7 separate regions of the Homo sapiens genome follow, and all the other regions are linked to region 4. The links are contacts of gene promoters, found by promoter capture Hi-C in blood cells and fetal thymus (Javierre and others, 2016). All regions are on one chromosome and are shown on one strand. Each heading gives the region's core, a stretch centred on a gene start or on the middle of the fragment in contact. The rest is flanking DNA. Distances are from core to core; before and after follow the strand shown. Region 1 has its middle 11 kb from the start of LINC00517. Region 2 has its middle 310 kb from the start of LINC00639. Region 3 has its middle 320 kb from the start of LINC00639. Region 4 holds the start of CLEC14A (C-type lectin domain containing 14A). Region 5 has its middle 30 kb from the start of LINC00517. Region 6 overlaps LINC00517 (long intergenic non-protein coding RNA 517). Region 7 has its middle 200 kb from the start of LINC00639.

Evidence for each region. Contacts are between HindIII fragments. The CHiCAGO score rates a contact against its expected background, and 5 or more counts as called.
Region 1: a contact is called between a fragment that was not itself captured here and the fragment with the promoter of CLEC14A in region 4, in 4 of 17 cell types (neutrophils, naive CD8 T cells, naive CD4 T cells and 1 more). The highest score is 7.1, in neutrophils.
Region 2: a contact is called between a fragment that was not itself captured here and the fragment with the promoter of CLEC14A in region 4, in 1 of 17 cell types (endothelial precursors). The highest score is 5.8, in endothelial precursors.
Region 3: a contact is called between a fragment that was not itself captured here and the fragment with the promoter of CLEC14A in region 4, in 1 of 17 cell types (endothelial precursors). The highest score is 7.7, in endothelial precursors.
Region 5: a fragment that was not itself captured here is called in contact with the fragment with the promoter of CLEC14A in region 4 in 1 of 17 cell types (neutrophils); the score reaches 10.2 in neutrophils.
Region 6: a contact is called between a fragment that was not itself captured here and the fragment with the promoter of CLEC14A in region 4, in 1 of 17 cell types (neutrophils). The highest score is 7.8, in neutrophils.
Region 7: a contact is called between a fragment that was not itself captured here and the fragment with the promoter of CLEC14A in region 4, in 2 of 17 cell types (endothelial precursors and megakaryocytes). The highest score is 7.8, in endothelial precursors.

The regions. Positions count from the first base shown.
Region 1 is chr14:37,911,648-37,914,725 of GRCh38, forward strand. No RefSeq gene overlaps it. Among named protein-coding and RNA genes, the nearest start is that of LINC00517, 11 kb to the left of the region's middle. The HindIII fragment of the contact is 6,750 bases long and covers 1-3,078 here.
Region 2 is chr14:38,606,917-38,610,467 of GRCh38, forward strand. No RefSeq gene overlaps it. Among named protein-coding and RNA genes, the nearest start is that of LINC00639, 310 kb to the right of the region's middle. The HindIII fragment of the contact is 4,009 bases long and covers 1-3,551 here.
Region 3 is chr14:38,590,243-38,593,530 of GRCh38, forward strand. No RefSeq gene overlaps it. Among named protein-coding and RNA genes, the nearest start is that of LINC00639, 320 kb to the right of the region's middle. The HindIII fragment of the contact is 4,708 bases long and covers 1-3,288 here.
Region 4 is chr14:38,254,742-38,258,147 of GRCh38, forward strand. CLEC14A (C-type lectin domain containing 14A) reads right to left here and starts at 1,352. Exons shown (of 1, transcript NM_175060.3): 1 at 1-1,352. The coding sequence starts at 1,281. It overlaps LOC112268136 (a long non-coding RNA gene), which reads left to right and starts at 1,304. Exons shown (of 5, transcript NR_169588.1): 1 at 1,304-1,704. RefSeq lists an enhancer at 534-1,161. The HindIII fragment of the contact is 4,914 bases long and covers 1-3,352 here.
Region 5 is chr14:37,929,940-37,933,453 of GRCh38, forward strand. No RefSeq gene overlaps it. Among named protein-coding and RNA genes, the nearest start is that of LINC00517, 30 kb to the left of the region's middle. The HindIII fragment of the contact is 3,705 bases long and covers 383-3,514 here.
Region 6 is chr14:37,894,970-37,898,406 of GRCh38, forward strand. It overlaps LINC00517 (long intergenic non-protein coding RNA 517), which reads right to left. Exons shown (of 2, transcript NR_135286.1): 2 at 1,091-3,437. Among named protein-coding and RNA genes, the nearest start is that of LINC00517, 5.4 kb to the right of the region's middle. RefSeq lists an enhancer at 1-69. The HindIII fragment of the contact is 6,010 bases long and covers 1-3,437 here.
Region 7 is chr14:38,718,311-38,721,388 of GRCh38, forward strand. No RefSeq gene overlaps it. Among named protein-coding and RNA genes, the nearest start is that of LINC00639, 200 kb to the right of the region's middle. The HindIII fragment of the contact is 1,236 bases long and covers 975-2,210 here.

The DNA.
Region 1 (3,078 bases), core at 47-2,546, 340 kb before region 4:
AGAGCATTTAAGGAGATTTAAATATAACCAAATAAGAGTTTCTGTAATCAAAGATTATCCTAGTGATTTCGCTGGCTGATTTGGAAAGGAAGGTCACTTTTGAAATAGAAATTTGTGAAAACATATCAAAAGATGGAAGTCATTATGGAGAAGATAAGATTAGCTCCATAAGACTCACTATACTCATTGTAGGAATTCCAAAAATAGAGAGGAACGGGAGAAGGAATGTCAGTAATTAAACAATAGCAAGAAATGTCTGTGATTTGAAGGAAGCTCTGAAGATCTAAATCTACACACAGAAAGGGCTCACAGATTCCAGTAGGGTGCATTAATAGAGACATACTGAGGCAGGTAAAAACTCTTGAGCTCTGTCAGGACAAAAATTATCCAAAAGTTTGAAATTGATAAAAGAGATTGTTCAGTGCTATTTCCCATGCAGGTCTGGGCTTGACTTTTTATTGACTGAATTGTTTAAAGTGTGTGGTGGCAGAAGCCTGCAGTGGTAGAGGTTAATGTCTAGATTTTTGTGCTCTAGAGATGAAAATAATTTCTGTTTAGTGGAACAAAAGGATACAGCTCATGGCCCTAAGACACTAAAAAGTTTTGTATTTAACCTAGTGATTTTATCTTATCATTCCTTTATCAAATTACCTGTATATACTTACCTTCTTTAATCGTCTTTGAACCTTTTGTTAACATTTTACTGGTTTCCTCATTTTTTAATGAGGTAAAATTATTGGCAAACATTCATTTTATATTGAATGAGAATCATGGTGTTGTCTTTTTGAAAATGACTTTTTTAAGTTTTGGAGAGAAATCACTAGAACACCCAAGCGCACTCAAGAGGGTGCTGTATTTCTGGATAAGTGTAGCTCGTGGGCTGTGTATGCTCAAGTTCGTCTTTTCTTGCCCCTTAAAGTAGATCCTCAGCAGCAACTAAAGTTTGCCAATGCTCTGTTCCTCTATTATTTTTTTCCTCTCTCTTTATATTGATTTTGTGCTTTTGCTTTTTCTGGTTCCTGAATGGGCAGTAGTCATTCCCCATTGGTGGCAGCAATGATTGGGAATTGTGTTTTATGGTCTGACCACTGGTGATCTCTGTCCAATGGATGATGGAGATCTAGTCTCTGAAGGGTGAGAGATGACAGGATTTGATTTGTTAATCTTTTTCTGTTTGCCTATTTGTGAACTCTAATCGATTGAAAAATACTCTGTGACCATTATGGAAGGGCAACAGCTCTTGCGATCTAGACTAGTGAGTTTTTATGTTTCTGGTCTTACTTTGGACCTGCAGCTGAAGTTGTATACTTGGGCTAAAAATTATTTGTTTGTAATTCCAAAAAGCCTTTACCTCTTGTGTATGAATGGGCAGCATTTTCTTACTTCTGGAGAGTATTTAAAAATTAGGTCTAATGTCCATTAAATTAAAGGAGATCTGTTCTGATTGCTTTTTCAAGATAAACAAGTCCTTATATAAATCAAGTATTCCAAGAATTCACAAAAACCCCGAATCTTTAATACTTTAAATGTGTGAAAGCAATTCTTCTTACAGAAACTTGTATCACAGAAATATTTTAAGAATCCAGGCTCACAAAATTAAGGGAATGTTTGGATGAATTAGACTGCTTCTATAATTTTCTGTGATTTACTAGCGTTCAGTATAGCATAGCCATCTTTTTAGTTTCCTTTGTAAACATGATTTAAGTATGTTTCTCATAAGGAGATTAGTTAATATATGAACATTCTAAACTTCTTACATTGTCTTACAGATCAAATAAACATTATAGTTATATAACGCTCAAGATGATAAAACTGTAAATTTGTCTTCATAATTCTGACATTTTTACAGCAGTAGTTATGTTCTGTAGTGTGTCAATTTGAACATAATTTTCAAAATTCTTAGGTAACTTAAAACTTTGGAATTTTATAAATTATGTTAATTAAAGTATAATCAGTAGATACCAAGATAATTCATATATAGTATTGGTACTGAAATGTTGATTACTATACATAATTTCAAGTTCATATAATTTCGCATCTAACTGTGATACACTATATAGTGGGTATATCTTTGGGCTATGATATGGTTTGGATGTTTTGTCTCCTTCAAATCTCATGTTGAAATGTGATCCCCACTGTTGGAGGTGGGGCCTGGTGGGAGGTGTTAGAATCATGAGGGTGGATCCTTTATGAATGGCTTGGTGCCATCCTCCTGGTAATGAGTTCTTGTTCTATGACTTTATGTGAGAACTGGTTGTTTAGAAGAGCCTGGCACCTCCCACTCCCTGTCTTCTTCCTTTCTTGTTTGCTCCCCCTCTCTCTTGCTCCCTGTCTCACCATGTGACATGCTGGTTCCCCTTCGCCTTCCGCCATGATTGGAAACTTCCTGAGGCTTTCACCAGAAGCAGATGCTGGCACCACACTTCCTGTACAGCCTGCAGAACCATGAGCCAAAATACCTCTTTTCTTTATAAATTACCCAGCCTCAGGTATTCTGTTATAGCAACACAAACAGACTAAACAGGATATTCAGAATAATACAGAAATGAATATTTTATTTTTGCTACTTTGTGAGGGCGTAAAGTGATATGTGTAGCAGGAGAAATTTTTGTTATCAGTATTCATTAGTTTTATTGTACTGGTAAAATTCCTAATTATGATGTATTTGTCAACTTTCTAGTTTCTAGTTTGTGCTGTGAAATAGAAATTATAGTTTTAGTTAAAAGTTGAATTAATGTGACTGGTTGAGACTATACTAGGAGCCATAGAGAGGAAATACAAGTGGGTATGTGCTTTTGTTTTTCAAGGAAAAAGGGGAATGATTTTCTCCTATATTAGTGTCAGTTTGTTCCAGAAAATGAGAGCACAGTGAAGGACAAAATCTGATTCTGTATAGCAAGTTATAGAGGGTTTGAAGGATATGAATTTTATTTGCCTTGAATTATAATAACTGAAATGGAAAAGAAGCTATAAAATATATTAAAATTTTGGCAGTTTGGTTTTGATAGGTTTATTCACCAGATAATGTAAGGAATGAAAAAGGGCTTGTGAATCTTTTACTGCCAAATATATTAATTA
Region 2 (3,551 bases), core at 642-3,141, 350 kb after region 4:
AGAAAAATATGAGTTACATGCAGAAAAAGCATTTGACAAAATTCCACATCTCTTCACAAAAAAACTCTCAACAAATTAGGTGTAGAAGAGATGTATCTCAACACAATAAAGGCCATATATGACAAAATTACAGCTAACATCATACTCAACAGTCAAATATTGAAAGTTTTTTCTCTAAGATCAAGAAGTAGTAGACCAGGATGCTCACACTATTTCTCTAAGATCAAGAAGTAGACCAGGATGCTCACTCTCACCATTTCTACTCAATATATTACTGGAAGTCCTAGAGAGGGCAATTAGGCAAGAGAAAGAAATATAAGGCATACAAATCGAAAAGGAACAAGTTAAATTGAATTTGTTTGCAGATGACATTATCATATATATAGAAAGCCCTAAAGACTCTACCAAAAAAAAAAAAATGAATTCAGTAAAGTTGCAGAACACAAAGTCAACACACAAAAGTATGTAGCATTTCTATACACTAACCATAAACTATCAGAAAAAGAAAATAATAAAACAATTTATAATAGCATCAAAAAAATACTTAGGAGTAAATTAACCAAGAAAGTGAAAGATCTGTATACTGAAAACTAAAAAACATTGATGAAAGAAATTGAAAAATACACAAATAAATGGAAAGATATCCTGTGTTCAAGGATTGAAAGAATAAATAGTGTTAAAATGTCCATACTACATTTCTTAGTTCCTTTTGTGCTGTTATTGCAGAATACCACAGACTGAGCAATTTATAATGAACAAAAATTTATTTCTGTTCTAGGGTCTGAGAAGGCCAAGATCAAGGTGCTGGCATATGGAACAAGGGCCTTCTTGGTGTGTCATAAAATGGCAATAAGAGCAAAGAGAGGGAGAGACAGGGAGAGAGAGAAAGAGAGGGGAGAGAGAGAGTGAAGGGAGCCAAACTCACCCTTTTATGACAAACCCACTCCCATAAAAACAAAAAAAAACCATCAATCCACTCATGAAGGTGTAGACCTCGTGGCCTAATTACCTCTTAAAGCCTAATTACCCACTTTAAGGCAAATATTCATAGCATTCCACCCAACTCCCCAAAACTAATGTCTTTCCTACATACAAAATACATTGATTCTACCTCAATAGCCCTAAAAGTCTTAATGTGTTCTAGCACAAACTCAAAAGTCCAAAGTCTCATCTTCAACATCATATGTGTGAGATTCAAGGCACAATTCATCCTAAGGCAACTTGCTCTTCAGCCATGAGCCTATGTAATCAAACAAGTTGTCTACCTCTAAAACACAGTGGTCAGATAGACACAAGATAGACATTCTCCTTCCAGAAGGGAGAAAAAGGCAAGAAAAAAGGGATAGCTGGTCCCAAGTAAGTCCAAAACCCAATAGGGTGAACAACATCAAATCCTAAGGCTCCAGAATAATCTTCCTTGCCTCTATGTCCCACCTTATATGCACACTGGAATGGGAATTGGGTCCCCATGGCCTTGGACAGCCCTGCCCTATGGCTTTGTTGGGTTCAGCCCACACAGTAGCTCCCACAGGTTAGAGTCTCATACCTGCAGCTCTCCCAGGCTGGCATTGCACACTGGCAGTGCTACTGTTCTGGAGTGGGCTGCCGCCACCCCCAGGGCTCCAGCAAGCATAGTTCTAGTGGAGATTCTCTTTGGCAGCTATTTCCCTGTGGCATGTTTTCATCTGAGTCCAAAGACTGTTCAATACATCCTTTGAAACCTAGGTTGAGACCTCCACAGTCCCACAACTCATGTACTCTGCACCTCTCCAGGGTTATCACCATGTGAATTCTGCCTACATTCACAGCTGTTCCATCCCCAGTGGTGGTCAGAGCAGCACTTGGGCCTTCTTGAGCCATAGCTGGGGCAGTGGAGAAGTGTTGTTCTGGAATGTGAGGAGCAGATACTTGAGGAGGGACAGGGCAGCAAAAGCTGAAGCCCCATGGGTGCCCTGGGCCCCTCTCCAGAAACCTTGCCCTCAAGACCCTGGCTTGGTCCAAAGATTTCTGAAATACCACTGGAGTCATTCTATTGTCTTAGTGAATAGCACCTGACATTTTTCTAGCCATATCAATCCCTTCAGCAGTCACTTGGCAACATCGTTAGGATTCTCTCCCGAACATGCTTTTAAAATTTTTTACATTGCCAGGCTGACAATTTTCCACATCTTTTCATTCTGCTTCCATTTTAATTATTAATTCCACCTTTAAATCATTTCTCTTTCCTTGAATTTTACTATATGCGGTTAAAAGACGCCACATAGATCCTTCAATGCTTTTCTGCATAGATATTCCTCCAGCCAGATATCCTAGTTCATTGCTTTGCCTGGGCACAGACACAATGTAGCCAAGTTCTTTGCCACTTTATAACAAAGATGATGACCATCCCTCCAGAGCCAGTACCCCAGTACCTTGATTTTTATTTCTGAGATCTCATCAGAATTACCTTAACTGCCCACATTTCTACCAACATTAGGATGGCAACCACTTAAGTAACCTCTAAGAGGTTTCAGGCTTTAGCTACAGCTCTTCTTGCCAGAGCCCTCACCAGAATTACTCTTAATACCTCATTTACAGCAACCTAGGTTTTTTCCTAACCTCCTCTTCTAAATTTTTTCAGCTTCTACCCCTTACTCAATTTCAAAGCTGCCTCTACATTTTCAGGTATTTGTTATAGAAACAGCCCCTCTTCTTGATACCAATTTTATATCTTTGCATTCTGCTACTATAACAGAATATCACAGACTGGATAATTTATGAGAAACAGAAACTTATTTGTCACAGTTCTGGAGCCTGGGAAGTGTAAGACTACAGTATCAGCATCTAGCAAGGGCCTTCTTGAGGTGTCATAACATAGCATAAGGGCAAAGAGAGGGTGACAGAGAGAGAGAAGGAACTGAACTCATCCTTTTTAACAACCCAATCCCGAAATAACAGTATTTATTCATTCATGAAGGGAGAGCATTCATGGCCTAATCAATTCTTAAACATCCCACTTCCTAATATTATTACAATGGCAATTAAATTTCAATGTGAGTTTTGGAGGGAACAAACATTCAAACTATAGAATTACCCAAAGCCAGGCAGGGGCATGGTGGCTCATGCCTGTAATCCCAGCACTTTGGGAGGCCGAGGCAGGTGGATAACAAGGTCAGGAGTTTGAGACCAGCCTGACCAACATGGTGAAACCCCATCTCTACTAAATATACAAAAATTAGTTGGGCACAGTGGCAGGCATCTATAATCCCAGCTACTTGGGAGGCTGAGGCAGGAGAATTGCTTGAACCTGGAAGGTGGAGGTTGCAGTGAGCTGAGATCATGCCAGTGCACTCTAGCCTGGGAAAAGAGCAAGACTTTGTCTTAAAAAAAAAAAAAGAATTACCCAAAGCCATGTTACAGATCCAATGCAATCTCCAACAAAATTTCAATGGCATTTTCCACAGAAATCACAGTCCCTGATTTCAAAATATATTACAAAGCTATAGGAATCAAAACAGCATGGTACTGGCATAAAAACAGACACATCGACACATAGAGGAATAGGATAAAGA
Region 3 (3,288 bases), core at 69-2,568, 340 kb after region 4:
CAGTTTACTTACATAAGTTATGATGGCTATAAACTGATCACTACATGAGTCAGGCCATGTGCTTATATCCAGTTATGTTATCTTACGTACTTCTGCAAAAGCTCTATAAACTACTATTATATCTATGTAAAAGACAAGACTCTGAAGCACAAAGAAACTTAAAAATCGTCTAAAATCACAGAGCAAGCAAATGGTGGAGCTGGGATTTGAACTCAGGTTTATCTATTTTTATTTTTTATTTTTTAAATTTATTTTATTTTTTATTTTATTTATTTTTTTTCTTTTTTGAGACAGAGTCTCGCTCTGTCACCCAGGCTGGAGGGCAGTGACGTGATCTCAGCTCACCGCAACTTCCACCTCCCATGTTCAAGCAACTCTCCCCTGCCTCAGCCTCCCAAGTAGCTGGGACTACAGGTGTGCACCACCACACCCAGCTAATTTTTTTGTATTTTTAGTAGAGACGGGGTTTCACCATATTGGCCAGGCTGGTCTCAAACTCCTGACCTCAGGTGATCCACCCGGCTCAGCCTCCCAAAGTGCTGGGATTACAGGCGTGAGCCAGCGCGTCTGGCTGAACCCAGGTTTATCTAGATGCAGAACCTAAGCTCTTAAGCCATACTAACTCCACTACCTCCAAGTAGCTGCTCATCCAATAAATATTTATTGGGCATATGGCAGACATTGTATTACGGGTTAGAGAACAAGACACTAAACAGGTACTAGAAAGATATTCATTTTCTAGTGAAAGATTAGCTATTTATCTATAAGTATCAGATTGCCTGATAGGCATTAGATGAAATTTTCTCCAGGCACTACAAATATATAGCTATTTATTTGATTAAGCAACATCTTACAGGATACAAATGAAAAATGTTCTACTACTACTACCCGTTGCCCCTTCCCTCAATGTACACACACACACACACACACACACAGACACACAGACATACAGACACACACACACACACACACCTATTCTATTAAACTCATTTTTTTGGATAGTTCTGCCTCTGTCCAAGGTTAGAATCTCAAGAAAATCCCATAACGTTTATATGGCTACTCTCAAATAATAAAAATTTCTCAGGTCACTTTTAGCTGAAAGAAGTTGTTCTTTCAATAATTAAAATGTGTGGTGCAGTGTAATCATCAAACCCTACATATCTTTCAAAGTTAAGACTTCTCCCAGGTCAAACCCCTTCTAGCCCAGGAAGCCTGGAGTAAGAAAGGCAAATGTGGTCACCAGCACCTGCTTCAATTCCCTGCCTTGCTCCTCTGCTCCTCCCTTTCCACTTTTATGTTTTCTGACCCCTTCAGGGAATAGGCCTTAAGCTGTGCTCTGGGCTTGGTGGATGTTTATAATTACAAGACACCTCTGTAGGTTTCTCAGAGATTCAATATCCTCCACTGGAAACCTCCCATTGCATGTCCCAGAACAGAGGTCATATCTCGCTGGCCTCTTTTAAGCTCCAATTTCAGCCCTAACACTCTGGGGGCCCATGCCATACAGACTATCTTGTTGGAATCCAATAAATAGCCCACCACCACTGCCTACCACTTGAAGCTCCTTTGAAGGATTATTCTAAGGATGTTTCATTCTTCTGCTTGGCCCTCAGAGGAAACATCATTACCCAACCATTGCTGCTAAACTACACTGGTGCAGTTTTTCCCCGCAATGGCCCAATGGCTTTTCACCCTTAGAGCCCTGAAGTCTGAGGAAGATATCAATCCACTAGGTCCCTGAATTTTTTATGTCAAGTTCTGCCTCCCACAGGCTTGAGGTAAACAGGAAACATTGGGCTGTCCTCCTCCATGTAAACACTGCGATAGAAGACCAGTTGCTGGAGTTCTGGGATGGCTCAGAACCCCAGCAACTGGTCTTCTCCTATCCCAGTGCTTTCACATGCCAGATGACCACATCCTTGGCATGTTAGCACCTCACTTTGGAATAGGGAGATGCCTGGGAAATACTGTTTTGTTCTCAGCCTTTGAGGCCTTAGCCAAAATCAAGACAGAGTCTCATTTAACATTCTGTTTCAAAAACATAAAGAAAAATGCTCAGGAGAATAAATGACACATCACAGTAAAAACTGTCTCTATATAATCATTTTCTAATATTTTCCATTAGGGAAATATTAGAGATTGGCCTTCTAATTTTGACTGTCCCCCTAGAAATGTCTAGTCAATCTGAGTAAATTGTTAGCCCTTATAGTCTTCACCTATAATTATATATATATGTATATATAATTATTTAAAGATTGTTGCATAGTCTTTCCAGGAAAATATGGCTCTGTCATTTGAGGCTCACATGATGGAGTGGTTATTGAAACATCAGTCGTTTTAGCCAATAACATGAACAGAAGACATTTTAGCCCATCAAATTTAAGCCAGGCATACAGACCCTGGTACCTGTTGGCAGACTTGTCCAAAGTGAGCACCTCTTGATTTATGAATAATCTGTACTTCCAGAATCACTGTTTTCTCCTATATGCAGGGACACACCACCACCTCAGGAGACCAATAAAGCTCAAAATGTTTTGACAACGTTAGAAATTGTATGAAAAGAATTAATAGTGGCATCTCAAAAACTAAATATTTTGTTCTCTTCAAGTACTGACCAAGAACGGAAGAGGCTTCATGGAAAAGCTACTTGAGAAGTTCTGGAAAACAAATCTTTAGCACTCAGTCCTTTTTTCTGTGTTGATGCGTCATTTGAGGCACTGCTATTTATGAGCCTACAGCTGAGGACTCTGTAGTGCCAGACAACTTAATCTTCCCTGATGTTATGGACTGAATGGTCGTGTACCCCCTTTCCACCAAAATTCATGTGTTGAAGCCCTAACCCTAGGGGTGGCTGTAACTGGAGTATGAAACTAATCAAGGTTAAATGAGTATAGGGCTCTGATCTGATTAGTGTCCTTACAGGAAAAGACACAGAGCTCACTCTCTTTCCTTCTCCATGTGCACACACTGAGGAAAGGCCATGTGAGGACACAGCAAAAACATGGCCATCTGCAAGGCAGGAAGAGTGTCCTCACCAGAAACTGAATTGGCTGGAAACTTGATCTTGGACTTCTGGCATCCAGAACTGTGAGAAAATAAATTTCTGTTTTTTAAACCGCCCAGTCTACGGTATTTTGTTATGGCGGCCCAAGCCGACTAATATATCCAATAACCTAGCAAGGGAGGAGAGGACAAAAAGACATTTCCTTCCTCTTTTTCAAAATGAGATCCCATACATTTCCAAGGATGTGTAAAAATATTAATATCTTGCTTTTACATACTATGTTT
Region 4 (3,406 bases), core at 102-2,601:
TTCGTGAAAGCAGAGCTTGACAAGCCCCAGTACTGTCATGGTCAAGATCACCAACACTACTACTGCTGTGCTCACAAATATGAAGACCACGGCAGAGGAGGAGTCGAAAGCCTGAGGAGTGGCAGAGGAAGTCGTAGAATTAAACTTGGAAATCACGCTCCCTGATGGGGTGATAGTGGCCTTTGACTCGGCTTGAAGGGACATTTGAAGGGTAGACATCGTGCTCTGTGATCCCCATCGAGGAATCTCAGGAATAGATGTTACTGAATTGTCTTGTTCAGGGACAAGTGGTGTCTCTCCCAGCTTCTCGTCGACCCTGATTGGCCATGTTCTCTGCGGCACGGGGCTGGTTGCAGTGGCCGGCGGGCGCCTGGTGGGCACCCCGGTCCCCCCAAGGGTCGGCTGTCCTTCCCCACTGGTCACACAAGAGCGGCCGTCCTTCCCCAGCTCGAAGCCCGTAGCACATTCGCAGGCAAAGCCTCCCAAGTCGTCTAGGCAGTTAGGGAGCTCTGCGCATTTGCCAGCACGGAGGTACCTCCCGGGGCAGGGACACAACACATCGCCCGAGAGTTTGTCCCAGCGAGCGCCGATTTCGTCCGCGATGCAAGTAACTGAGATCGGGAGCTGTCCCCGGCAGAGCGCACTCACCTCGGTCCCAGGTGGACTGAAGTCCAGAGCGGCGCTGTGCAGCTGGAAGGGCGCGCGATAGCTCAAGTTAGAGGCGGCCCCGGGGCGCGGCGCAGGACACAAGACCTCAAACTGGTACTTGCACAGGTAGCCGTTGGCGCGCAGGTGGCATCGCATCTCCTTCCAGCCTGCGGGCTCGACCCCACCGGTGGCCTGGAGTACCGCGCATCTCCGCGCGGTGCAGGAGCGTTGGGGCTCCTCCACCCACTGCAGCGTGTCGCTTTCGAGACCGCCGGGGTCGGAGGACAGCCAGGAGAAACCCCGCAAAGGCTCGTTCTCCAGGGTGCAGTGGGAACGCCTGCGCTCCAGTGCGACCCAGAACAGCAGGTCTTTGGAGCCCCCTCCGGGCCCTGGGCCTGCCCGCAGGAGCGCGAGCACAGCGCGCAGCTCGGCGCCCGCACGCACGGTGCTGAGCGCCCCACCTCGCAGGATGCAGGCCTCCTCGGCCGCCTGCCGCTTCATGGTAGCGTGGTGCAGGCTGTAGCAGGCCCCCGAGGCCGAGCAGCCAGCACGGTCGGCAGTGGGGTGTTCGCCGCCGCCCGGCCCGGGCCAGAGCGCCTGCCAGAGGAGGCACAGGGCGAACGCCGGCCTCATTCTCTGAGGCCCCGCACGCAGAGCTGCTCCCAACTTGGATCTGTCCCGCTCGAGGACGCAGAGCTGTGTCTGGAGCGCGGTCACCGCCCTCTACAGCTGGCTTCCCCAACCCGGTTCCCCCTCCCTTCCCCTCCGCCCTCGCTCCCGACGGACCCCCCAACTGCCAAGAATCCCCCCGCGGGCCCAGCGGCCAACAGTTTCCCTTAGGCCGCGACAGGAAATGTGTGCGGAGCGCTGCCAGGCCCGGTGCAGCCCTGAGTTATTCTGGGGTCAGGAACACAGCTGGCGCCGGGTACAGGGGACGCAGTCGACTAGAAGGTCAAACACCCTGCTTAGAGCAAGAGGAGAAATTCGCCACTGGGATGAAGTGTGTGGTTTTTCTCCGTTCAGGGAGTTTCATCAGGACCGCAGAACCCATAACACGTAAGCGAACATAGGCAGGAAGGACTTGAGAAAGGAACTGGCTTATGATTATAAGACCACGCCCGTCTATTGTGTTTCTGTCCGGAGCTGTGGAGTTAGCGTCAGAATAATTCGTAGACGGCTCCAGTGTTTGGGGGGCCTGTGCCTGTGGGGGAAAAATATGTTGTGAAACAACTTAGCAACTGCTTTTGCCACCAGAGGCAGCACTATTTAACCGCATATCTCTCTATGGGTCTTTGCTTCTCTATTATGTCAAGAGATTTCAGGAGTCCTAACTACTAAAGAATTTGGAGTTGTTTGGGTATTTTAAATGGGAAATTCTGCTTCTTCCATCAGCACTTGCTTTAGAAATTTATTTTTCACTTCCACGTGTTTCTCTTTGAGTTAGACCATATTGATTCATTACAGAAAGGAAATGTATTTCTAGGACTAAATGAAAAATAATGACCATAGATCTTAACAGTTAGGTTGTTAGCTTTCCTTGCCACTGTATTGGTTCAAAAATTCTTCAAGTTTATAGGTTATACATAAATGAGTTCGTGGCCTTATAAATATTCGAGAACAACTGCCCTATGTGTGATTTTAGCCTTGAACTATTTTAGTATCATTTTCTCCTATGATTGAGTGGCAGCATTTATAATAGTAAGTTGTAAACATCTCCTTTAAGGAAAATTAGAGTTCCTTAAGAAATTAAAATGTTTATTCCATTATAATGAATATTGTATACTGTCAAAAAATATCTTGTAATTTGAAAGATGGGTGAGCCAATTTCTTTAGAATTCCAGTGGGTGTTTTGTTTTAATATAAACATTTCAACTCAGTGGGAAGTGGCAAGGAATTAAAGATGAATAAAGAAGTAAAGGTTAAAAACTGTACTGTTATGAAAGGATTTCTTGTTAGCAACTTAGACAATTCAGTATCAGTTTAGAAAACGTACATTCTATCTTGGTTCATAATGGCCAAATACGTTGCCATCAGAAATACATAGAGAGTTTCAGCTAAGCCCTCTTAGAGATGTCTGATGCTTTTAAATATCTTTAATCAGAATGAAAGTTGCCATTCCATGGATAATGCATATAAGCTCACTTTGTTTTACTGCATTCAGGTTGATGAGGGGTGGGAGGGAAGGTTTCAGGATCACATCTGTATGCTTCCATCTTATTTTTACCATAACTCTCATTCTTCTTTCCTCCTGGAAATTCCATGTATCTTAACAAACAACAGTAAGCCTATGAGTCATCATCATACTTACCTTGCTTTTGCTGAGTATGGAGCTTTGCACTAGGATTTCTCTCCTGCCCTATTTCCCAATTTAAAGAACATTCCTTAGTCCTTCCTTCAGATGTCTGAGAATCACCTTAAACGTGGCTTTGCGTTTAAATTAGGTAACTTAGTGTCTTATAAGAAAGAAACATGAAAATCCAGAAATCAAATTGAATGGTTTTTAAAAAATACTTAGTCACTTGGGCCAGCTCTCTATAGACCATTGCAATCTTATGACTGTGTTTGTAAATGTGTCCATGTAGTGCAATATTTTTAATAAAATCTTTTTCAAACTTAAGTAGTCAATGGAAATTTCTTAGATAGCTTTAAAAATCGTTTGGGATGAGATGAGGTGTCTACAGTAAGAAAGAATGAATAGCTGGAAAGCTTAAGTAAATACATGATCTCACTCCCTGACATTCTGTCTAGGGGAGTGGGA
Region 5 (3,514 bases), core at 985-3,484, 320 kb before region 4:
TTTGGAACATTAGAGAAAATCTATGTAAATCCCTGATACACACCCAAATATTGTGCTCATAAAATATAGAATGTTCATTACAGGCAGTATGTATCATTGGACACAAGTATATGAACATGTTTCTGGTCACAGAGGCTTAGTTAGACCTCAATATCTCTATCTGCAAGCCTTTAAAAAGTAGGAACTTGCTTAACATAGTTCTCATCAAACTTTCCCCTTAACTCAAATCATAAAAGCTATGATGATAAGAATTTGCCTACATGAATATTTTTAGAGCTTTCCTAGTGAATCATCAGTTTTTACATGAGCATATTAAATATGGTAAGGTGAATTTTGATATTCAAAGCAAAAAAAAAAAGTAAATGGAATTTAATGTATTATAAGCTTAAACTAAAATATCTACATTCTCGTCTTGTTTTCCCATCCTGTTTTCTGAAGCATATTTTTAAAACCATGGTATTTTCTAGACTGGGGTGGATGAATTAGGGAGGAATTATAGAGATCAGTACCAGCCAAGTGGGATAAGATAAATTCCATTTTATAGGTGGAATAACTGAGATAATCCCAGTGGTAAATGTATTGGGTGCCTTCTACGTGTTAAGTGCTGGGGCAGATACTTTACATTCTCTGATTCAGGCCTTGCAGCAACCCTGACTGAAGCAAGCCATGTTATCTTTCTTCCAAGGTGAGGGGCAGAGCTCTGTGAGGACTGAGACCGTGCCTCTTTTATTCACCACACTTACTCCCAGGGCCTAGAAAAATAACTGGCATATTAGGTACAGAGGAAATATTTGTTGAATCAGTGGACAAAGGAAAAAAGAAATGAAAACATGGAACCTCAGAAAGAACAAGCAAACTGACTGAGGTTACAAATCTCTCTAAATGGTGAAGGTTGACTCAGACTTGGGTCATTGTGTTGGCCCTCCTCAAAAGAGTTGCAGAATCTACCTATATGCCCTGGGTTTTCATGCGCAGTATAAGGTGCCATGGTTAGTAATATGCATTTTCATGTGGAAAGATCATGGACTATCTGGTAACCGATATTGGGTGCATCTGAGATAAAATATTATTACAGTTTTTTAGCCTCTGCAGTGGCATTTTTTTCGGAAACTTTTTTTTCTTTTTTTTACACAAGTTGATTCCACTATCCTTTCTGTATTAGATATTATTTTGAGTATGTCTTCTTTTCTCCTTCTGATCATGAGAACAATATATGGGAGACAACAAAATTACGTAGACTTAGGTGTGAATATTGACTGCCATATATCAGCTAAGTGACCTTAGGCAAGTTATGTAATGGGGATAATACTTCCTACATAGGTTCTTTTGTTTTCCTTTTTGGTCAGAATTAAATGAAATATGTGCATGTATATTGTAAGCATTCAATACCATGAATGATAAATTACTAACAATATATGCTTATTGTAGAAAATGTAAAAGTATTAAAAAGAAAATAATAAAACACTCCCAATTCCATTTTCAAAGATTAGTAGTTAGTAATTTGTTGTGTTTTCTTCTATCTTTTTCTCCTCTGTTTACATTTTTAAGTAGCTGAGATACCACTGCATATATAATTTTGTAAGCTGCTCTTCTTGTTTTTACCTCAGCAAGAGGCTAATTTGATGAAGAGATAAAAGCTGAAAAATGTCAGGCACGCCTTCCTTACCAGAGAATTTTGATGCTGTGTTCATAGAGCCCAGGTGGGCACTTCTTTGTCCTTTAAATTACTTTTCTATTCAAGGAGTGATGAAGTTGAAGGGTTGTTCCCTAGGACATCTGGAAGGCAGTAATCATTCTATGCTCTAATTGAGGAATAAATGTCCAGTTTTACTCTGTGCTTTTTCCAGGCCTGTGCTAATCAGGATGCTGGATCTTTGGGCTTTCAGATAATTAGTGATGGACGTTTTGCTCTGGTTGTTCAATAACCCTCCCTTTTTCTTTTCAATGCCTTCTCATTAGTAAGCCAAAGAGAAATTGCATCAAAGCAGCTAAATACACATTTATATGGCTCAAATATTATACCATGACCTGTTTGTGAATTACTCAAGGACCTGGAGTATTTAACTTGAAAACCAGGTATGCTTCTAGAGATGAGAGAGGATTGCCTTTAACAAGGGACACACTCAGATGCAAGCACCCAATGGTAGAAAATGTCATGTGGCTGTTTTCTTCCTGGCTAGCTCTGTTCGTCGGAGCGACCAAATTCAGCTAAGGTCAGGGACTGAGGGGTTGATGAGCTGGCACTTTTGGCTCTCACTTCATCTCGGGAAGGCATTGTGTTGTCAGAAATACACTTACTATTCTCAGGAGACAGGGCATTAAAATCCAAAGCAGTTACTGAATGCTCAGAGCAAAGGTTCTAGAAACCGTCACTAGCCTAGAAAGATAAATAAAAAGCAGATGTAAGTAGGAGTTAGGAAGCATTGGCCGTGGGTTTTCTGTATATTCTAACTGCTGAGAGTTTTGTTCCTGGCTGGAGTAGATTTCTAAAATTCTCATCATCACCATCATTTTCCTCCTCCTCATCATCATCATATTTGTTACGTGTGAGTGAGCAGGGACAGAAAGCTGCTTGACTTGTCTTCTGTTAGGCTGGTGGATATAGCATGTTGTGGGTTAAATCGTGTCCCTCCTTAAATATGTTCAAGTCCACACCCTTGGTATCTATGAGTGTGATCTTATTTGGAAACAGTATTTACAGATATAATCAAGTTAAGATGAGGGTCATATTGGATTGCAGGAAGAGGGAGGATCCCTAAATTCAACACTGGTGTCCTTATAACACTGTGTGAAGATACAGAGAGACACACTTGGAAGAACGCCACGTGAAGTTGGAGGCAGAGACTGGGGTGATGCAGCTGCCAACCCACAGACATCAAGGATCGCAGACTACCCTCAGAAGCTAGGAAGAGGCAAGGATGATTCCTTCCCAAGACCCTTCATGGGGAGCATGACCCTGCTAACACCTGGAATTTGGACATCTAGGCTCCAGAGCTATGACAGAATATGTTTATGTTCTTTTAAGCCCCCAAGTTTATGGCTTTTTGTCATGACAACCCTAGGAAACTAATAGATAGCATGCATGAGACTGACCTCCACCTATAAGCGTACTTTTTCAGGAGGACTAGAGTTCTTTTCTGTTTTCAGATCGAGCTTTACACTGCTTCTTATTCACTATTGCCTCCCTGAGGAAAATACAGAAATAGGGTATTCTTACAGTCCTGAGGGACTCATGGGTATACACACCGTCTTAGGTTGGGTTTCATTAGAAGTAGGCACTGACATGAGGATTTGTGTGGAAGCAGTTTCTTCGGAGACAATCCAAGGAAGCACTGATGAGGGAGTAGGGACATCTGATAGGGAAGGGAAGAAACAAATAAAGAGCCCATTACTGATCAGTTTACCATTGTGGGCAACCAGGGCTCAGTTCTACTGGGGAACTCTGGAAGACAATGCAAAACATACTTTAGAATCCCCCTCCACCACCAGAAGAGGGGAGTTGGAGACCTGTTGC
Region 6 (3,437 bases), core at 387-2,886, 360 kb before region 4:
ATGTATTAGTTGCCACAAAGCAACTTTCAAATTCTGCCCATTGTACAACTTCCATTGTACCTGGCGAAGTGGGTGACACATTTAATTTTGCTGAGGACAAATGTTAAGGGACGCTACCTGAACTACCATTGAGGGAAAAGGAACGCAGAATTTCCTGGTATTCCACTGGATACCCCTTTTTCTTGCTGCTTCCTTAATACAGCCTCTCCCTTTTCCTTCCACAATGGTGTTGCCAAGTAAGCCAAAGTATGGAATGAGTTGTCCCAGGGCAGGTGATCATGCCAGGGTCACCGTGCATTAATAGCTTTGGGACAAAGCCAGGTATGTTCACAGGAAACCTAGGCAACCACTCTAAGTCCTGACCTACCAAAATTTTCTCATGGATTATGTAAATGATCATATACCACTTGTCAAGCCAGACTCGGCAGGGTTTCTCTTGCCCTTTAAACTTTCTCTTCATTTCTGTCTTCTTTCTGTTCATTTTTCCTCTCTCCTTTTTATTTAATTATTGCTTTCATTCTCTATGTCCTGTTCTGTGCATTTCCTATATTATTTCCCATCTTGTTTGCTATATAACACACTCACTAACATTGCGTTCATAATTTTCCGTTTATTTTCATATCACACATGTGTTCAAAATAGACATTGTCTCAGATGAAAAAAGTTGTCATATACCAAGCTAGAGCAGGCTTAGCTAGACTGCCATTTCTCCATGAAATCTTATTGACCATTCTTTTTAAACGCTTCATAGCTTTTTTGAGAAATAACCATCTTTGGGGAATGAACTGTAATTTATTGGGAGACGTTAGCTTTAGTAAATACTTAAGTACTCTCATGATAAAGGGACCAAGCAACATTTGTCTCTGTTCCTGCATGTTTAAGAATTTAAGCATAAAAGCCGTAGCAATGTTCCTGGTGGATTGTTGCCCCAAAGTTAATATGCTTCTGAAGATTCAGGACAGTTTCTGTGGAGTATATTGCCTAATAACTGTTGTGACCGGTGCTTATATATTTTGTTCTTGGCTCTTAAACTTGTGCTTGGGGTGTAGTGTTCAGTTTATTGAAGAAGGAACAAAAAAGCAGTGGCTTTATGAAACTCATTTATTCACTTTATCAGGATTGCTTCATTGTTTGTCAACTCAAAATATTAGTGGGGATTTAGGGAAATAATCTTGCTCTCTAATTAGATGAAATGGGAGGCTTATTGCTGCAGCCATAAATGATCTTTTAGGTGTTACTAATTCAACTAAATCTCAGATGTCCAATTTGTGCAGCCTGTTGATGATATTATTCAGTGAAAAATGGTTGGGGAGATTGGGAATGATTAAGAAAATTAGTCTTGCTCACAACTTAATGATAACACTTGAGGATAATGTAAAAACAATAGCAACTTTGAAAGTCAAGATGGGTCATCCAGCAATGAACTATTACCCAACTCAGTCGCCAAGATTTGGATCATTAAGTGCTCAGCTACATAAGGAAGAAATGAATTACTAATTTGTGTTGTTAAGGCTAATGTTCTTGTTTAGTGTTTAGACTGACCTATAAGTTCCTGCGCTGTCCTGAATGAAGCCTTGCAGGATGGAAATATGGCAAGGTTGCCAGCTGGGCTATACTCACAGGGGTCCCAGATTATCTCTGTCCGGGAAGCAGTGGTGGGAAACGGGTAAAAATATTCTCCACATGGGGTCTCCACTTCTCTGGCATCAATAATCCAAGCTACAAGTTCTTGCTATTCTTTATCTTTGTCCTTACTGTGCCTAAATTTATCTTTATCCATTCTCAGCCTTTTTTCAAGGAAAAGAAGTATTGTGAGGGCAATGAGGATCCACGTCTTTACATCCATTTCTTTGCTTTGCATAAAGTCCTCAGTATTTATTTTCCTTTAGGGATGCTGGCTTTCTTAGGTAGGGGATCTATTATAATAATTGATTTCAAGTCCACTAGGCTGAGATGGCTCCAGTGCCTTTGTAAGCAAACCAAAACCTAACTCAACCTAAATACTAAAATAAAACTTTAGTTTAACCAATCAGAAATTGCTAACCAACCTGTAACTAGAGATTTTCAGCCTAAATCAATCAGATATTTTCTTTGTCTTGCTTCCACAAACACCTTATACAAGTTTTCCCCTTGCACCCTCTCAGTGGAGTGCTGAACCACTTGTAGTCTGAGACTGCTGGGTTCATGAATTGCTGAATGCTCAAATAAACTTGTTAAAATTTTAATGTGCCTAAGTTTATCTATTAACAGGTCATTCTTATCAGGGGATTGAAAAGGAACTGAAAAATACAAAAGTGATGTACTTTTATAGAAGATAATGAAGATCAGAAATCTTAAGGCTGCCATACAGATCAGAGGTTTCACACGTTCCTTTGATTAGGCAAACTCACTCAAGGCAATTAACAAAAGAGTTCAGGCTAACACTTTGGGGTCCATTTAATCAGAGACTAGCCTAATGGGTCAATTCTGAGGCTCTACTAAGGCTCTAAGAGCCAAAGCAGCCTTTGGCTTTCTAATAGTGAAAAGGACAAAGTTTTAAAGCAGACATGTGTCTGCTAATAACCAGGGCTCAATCCTTAAAATTAATTCTGAAGCCTCCAGTTTTATACTTGGCAACTCCAAAATACTGAATTATTATTAAGCTATTATGATACTTTATGTATGCTTATTATTTTAGTGTCCATCAAAAGAAATATTTCATGTAGTGGCTTTAATAAAATTTATTTTCTTAATAAAAACATTGGCCATATCATGTGCTGGATAGTAGAGAAACTTCACCTACATTTTGAAGAAGATCGATCATGGATAATTAAACTTAAGCAAAAAGGGCCGCTTAGTTTTAACTGGCCAAATAGTGGCATCGAATCTCAGAGAGGACCAAAACAGGGTTTAAGAAGGCAGGTCTTATAGATTGAATCTTATTCAAATGACCTAAATGTCAAAAGTAGTATGATTATAAACCTACGAAAAAGTGAGAAAAATCCATTTCTAGGTTATATTGTTAAGTTAAAAAAAGAAAGGTACAACAAGTATATATAATATGCTACATTTTGTGTATGGCCAGCACAGAAAATGAGAATATATATTTGATTTGCATGTATTTGCATAAAGAAACCTTGGAAGGATAAACAATAAACTAATAAAAGTGGAGGAATGAAGTGGATGGAGACTTGGGTGGTAGCATGACTTCCCCGAGTATACCTTTACATTGCTTTGAGTTTGAAACAAGTAAATGTATTACTTACTCAAGAACAAAAATGAAAAGACAAAAACATGATGAGATATTTTGTTGGAAAAGTTAAACCTAGAGGGAATATTTGCAGAAGATGTAAAGTGTGACATTTCAACATAAGTACAACATTGTGATGTAGCAGAAAGGTCAATAAGCTGAGAGAGAGGAGACATGGGCCCAGTTTTACCACAAACTACTTTAGCAT
Region 7 (3,078 bases), core at 343-2,842, 460 kb after region 4:
GGACAACTGTACTTGAAAATGGTAATCAAGTCATCACTTTCAAGCCTAGTTGAATCCAGTGCTTCATCTACTCCACACCTGCACCCACACAGCTGAATGTGTCTGAAGAAAAACACATAATTGTGCTGATTGATCTCACTTTAAATTCATGACCACCCATTTCCTAACAAAGCTGACCCCTCCATTTGAACACGTAAATCTAATTCCATCTCTTCTGCTCAAGGATACAACTCCCACAATTGCCCCTTCCTCCTACATGTTTTATTTTCCCATCTGTACTCAACATGCAGTATTTCTATCATTTTTTTAAGGCACTCACAATCCCACTTTCCTGTCCTGGTATGACCCCATTTCCACACTTTGAAACAAATAGACTTGCTCTGTACAGTTTCTCTCTTCCTGTTCTCACTTAAACCCACTCGGAGTATGCTTTTGCCTGATTGCTCCATCAAAACTGCTCCTGCCAAGCTCTCCAATGATCTCCAAAGTGGAAATCCAGATTCTTCATCTTACTTGACTTAGCAGCCTTTGACCTGGTTAAACATTATTTCCTTCTTGAAGCACTTTCTTCACTTGACTTCCGGGACACCACATGGTCTCAAATGCTTCCTCTCAGTCTTGGCTGGTTCCTTTACTCCCCAACCTTTCAATGTTGGAATACTCCCAGCCTCCCTTGCCCTGGAACTTCTCTTTCTTATTATCTGTCTATATCTCTAGCTTCATCTCTCAATCTATCATGATTCCCATTCAAGTTAGAACAGGCTAAGTCTTCCTGGGTTAAAAACAACCACACCCCAGTCCCAGTAGCTTAAGAAAGGTTTCTCACTCATGTTGCCTTTCAGTTGTGGTTTGCCTAGGTATTGTATCCCATGTTGTCCTTTCTCTGGGACACAGCTCGTAGAGCAGCTACCATAAAGAGTACTGCCAGCTGCTGTGACAGAGATAAGAATGTGACATTGTGCATTAATTACTAAAGCTTCCATCCAGAAGTAACATGTATTATTTCCACTTGATTTTAGTTGGACAGAGCAAGTCACAGGGCCATGATGAGTAGAAAAATACAATTCTAACATAAAACCATATTAGAAGGTGAAATGGAAATATTTGGTGAATGACACTAGTGATTACCAAAACTCCCAAATGTGTATCTCCTGCCTAGGCTTCTCACTAAACTCTTTTTTTCATTACCTAACTCTCTGCTCAGCATCTTCACTTAGATATCTAAAACCTCAAACTGGCCGGGTACTGTGGCTCATGCCTGTAATCCTAACACTTTGGCAGATTGAGGCAGGTGGATCACCTGAGGTCAGGAGTTCAAGACCAGCCTGGCCAATATGGTAAAACCTTGTCTCTAACTAAAAAATACAAAAGTTATCTGGGCATGGTGGCGTATGCCTATAGTCCCAGCTATTTTGGAGGCTGAGGCAGGAGAATCACTTGAACCCAGGAGGCGGAGGTTGCAGTGAGCCGAGATCGTGCCACTGCATTCCAGCCTGGGCAGCAGAGTGAGACTCCAACTCAAAAAAAAAAAACAAAAAACCTCAAACTAAGCATCTTCAAAACTGAGGTCTACTCTTCTCCTCACTCCAAACCAAACCTCCTCCTACAGTTTTTTAATCTCAGTTCATGGCAACTCCATGAACTCCATATATAAGCCTCATAAGGGTTTATTGTTGTATCTTCAATGCCAAACAAAATGTGTGGCAAAAAGTAGGTTGAACAAATGAATTGATGAATAAATATTGTGTTTCTGTCTCAGTTCATGCTCTGATTTCTTCACATCTTTAAAAAATGGTAAAGTAGATACCTTACTTAAAAAGATTCTGACTAATTGAATGTAATGATCAACACTGTAGCTCGAGCATACAGGGCCTGTTACTATACCAAATACTGTGTTGAGTTCCTTGCATTCTCTGCCTCTCCCACCCAACAATTAGCCTACAAGTGCTATACAAGTAGTTCTCTGACACTGTTAGCCTCCTGAGTCCGAGCCTTCACTACCTACATCCCCTCCCTCTTCATCCCATATGGCCATTCTCTCTCCATATGTGCATACAAACCTTTTGGGAATCCATTGCATATGTCACATTTTTTAAACAGGTTATCCTGTGATGCACATTAGACATTTCTAAGACCATTTACTACAAGGTTGATTTTTCTTTGAGAACTTATTATATTTACTTTTGGACTCAACACATTTTTTCTCATTAAGCTTCTCAAGTCATCTCTCCTTACTCATCAGACAAATGCCATTCCAGGTGAGGAATTTTGTGTCCTAAAAGCCTGAGTTTTTAAAGAGCTATTTGCAAATTATTGTTATTTTCTGGATCTGACTGACATACCAGGTGAGAGTTGTCAGCTGTTAGCTGACAGTTGCAAATCCAGGGGCCTTAAGTCAAGACTCCAGATAAGAAACACAGCAGCCCAAACTAAAGGTACTATTTCCAAATACATGTCTAGGTATTTGCTTCTCTTTTTTTAGAATAAGATCAGATTATATATAAATTATATTATTGCATAGTATCTCTTTCATAAGGTCTGTTATGGTGATAAAAATCAATAAATATATGTGAAGTGCTTAGAACAGTACAATGCAATTTAAGTATGTGTTGCTATTTTCTTTTCCTTAAGATGACTAATTATTTAATAGTCTAAGTGGGTACTATATTAGGGTTCTCTACAGGGACAAAATTAATGGAATAGACATATATATAAAGGGGAGTTTATTAAGTATTAATTCACATGATCACAAGGTCTCACAATAGGCCGTCTGTGGGCTGAGGAGCAAAAAGAGCCAGTCTGAGTTCCCAAACTGAAGAACTTGGAGTTCGATGTTTGAGGACAGGAAGCACCCAGCCTGGGAGAAAGATGTAGGCTGGGAGGCTAGGCCAGTCTCTCTTTTCAGATTTTTCTGCCTGCTTATATTCTAGCTGTGCTGGCAGCTAATTAGATTGTGCCCACCCAGATTAAGGGTGGGTCTGCCTTTCTCGGCCCACTGACTCAAATGTTAATCTCCTTTGGCAACACCCTCACAGACACACCCAGGATCAATAATTTAATCCATGATTGAATCCTTCA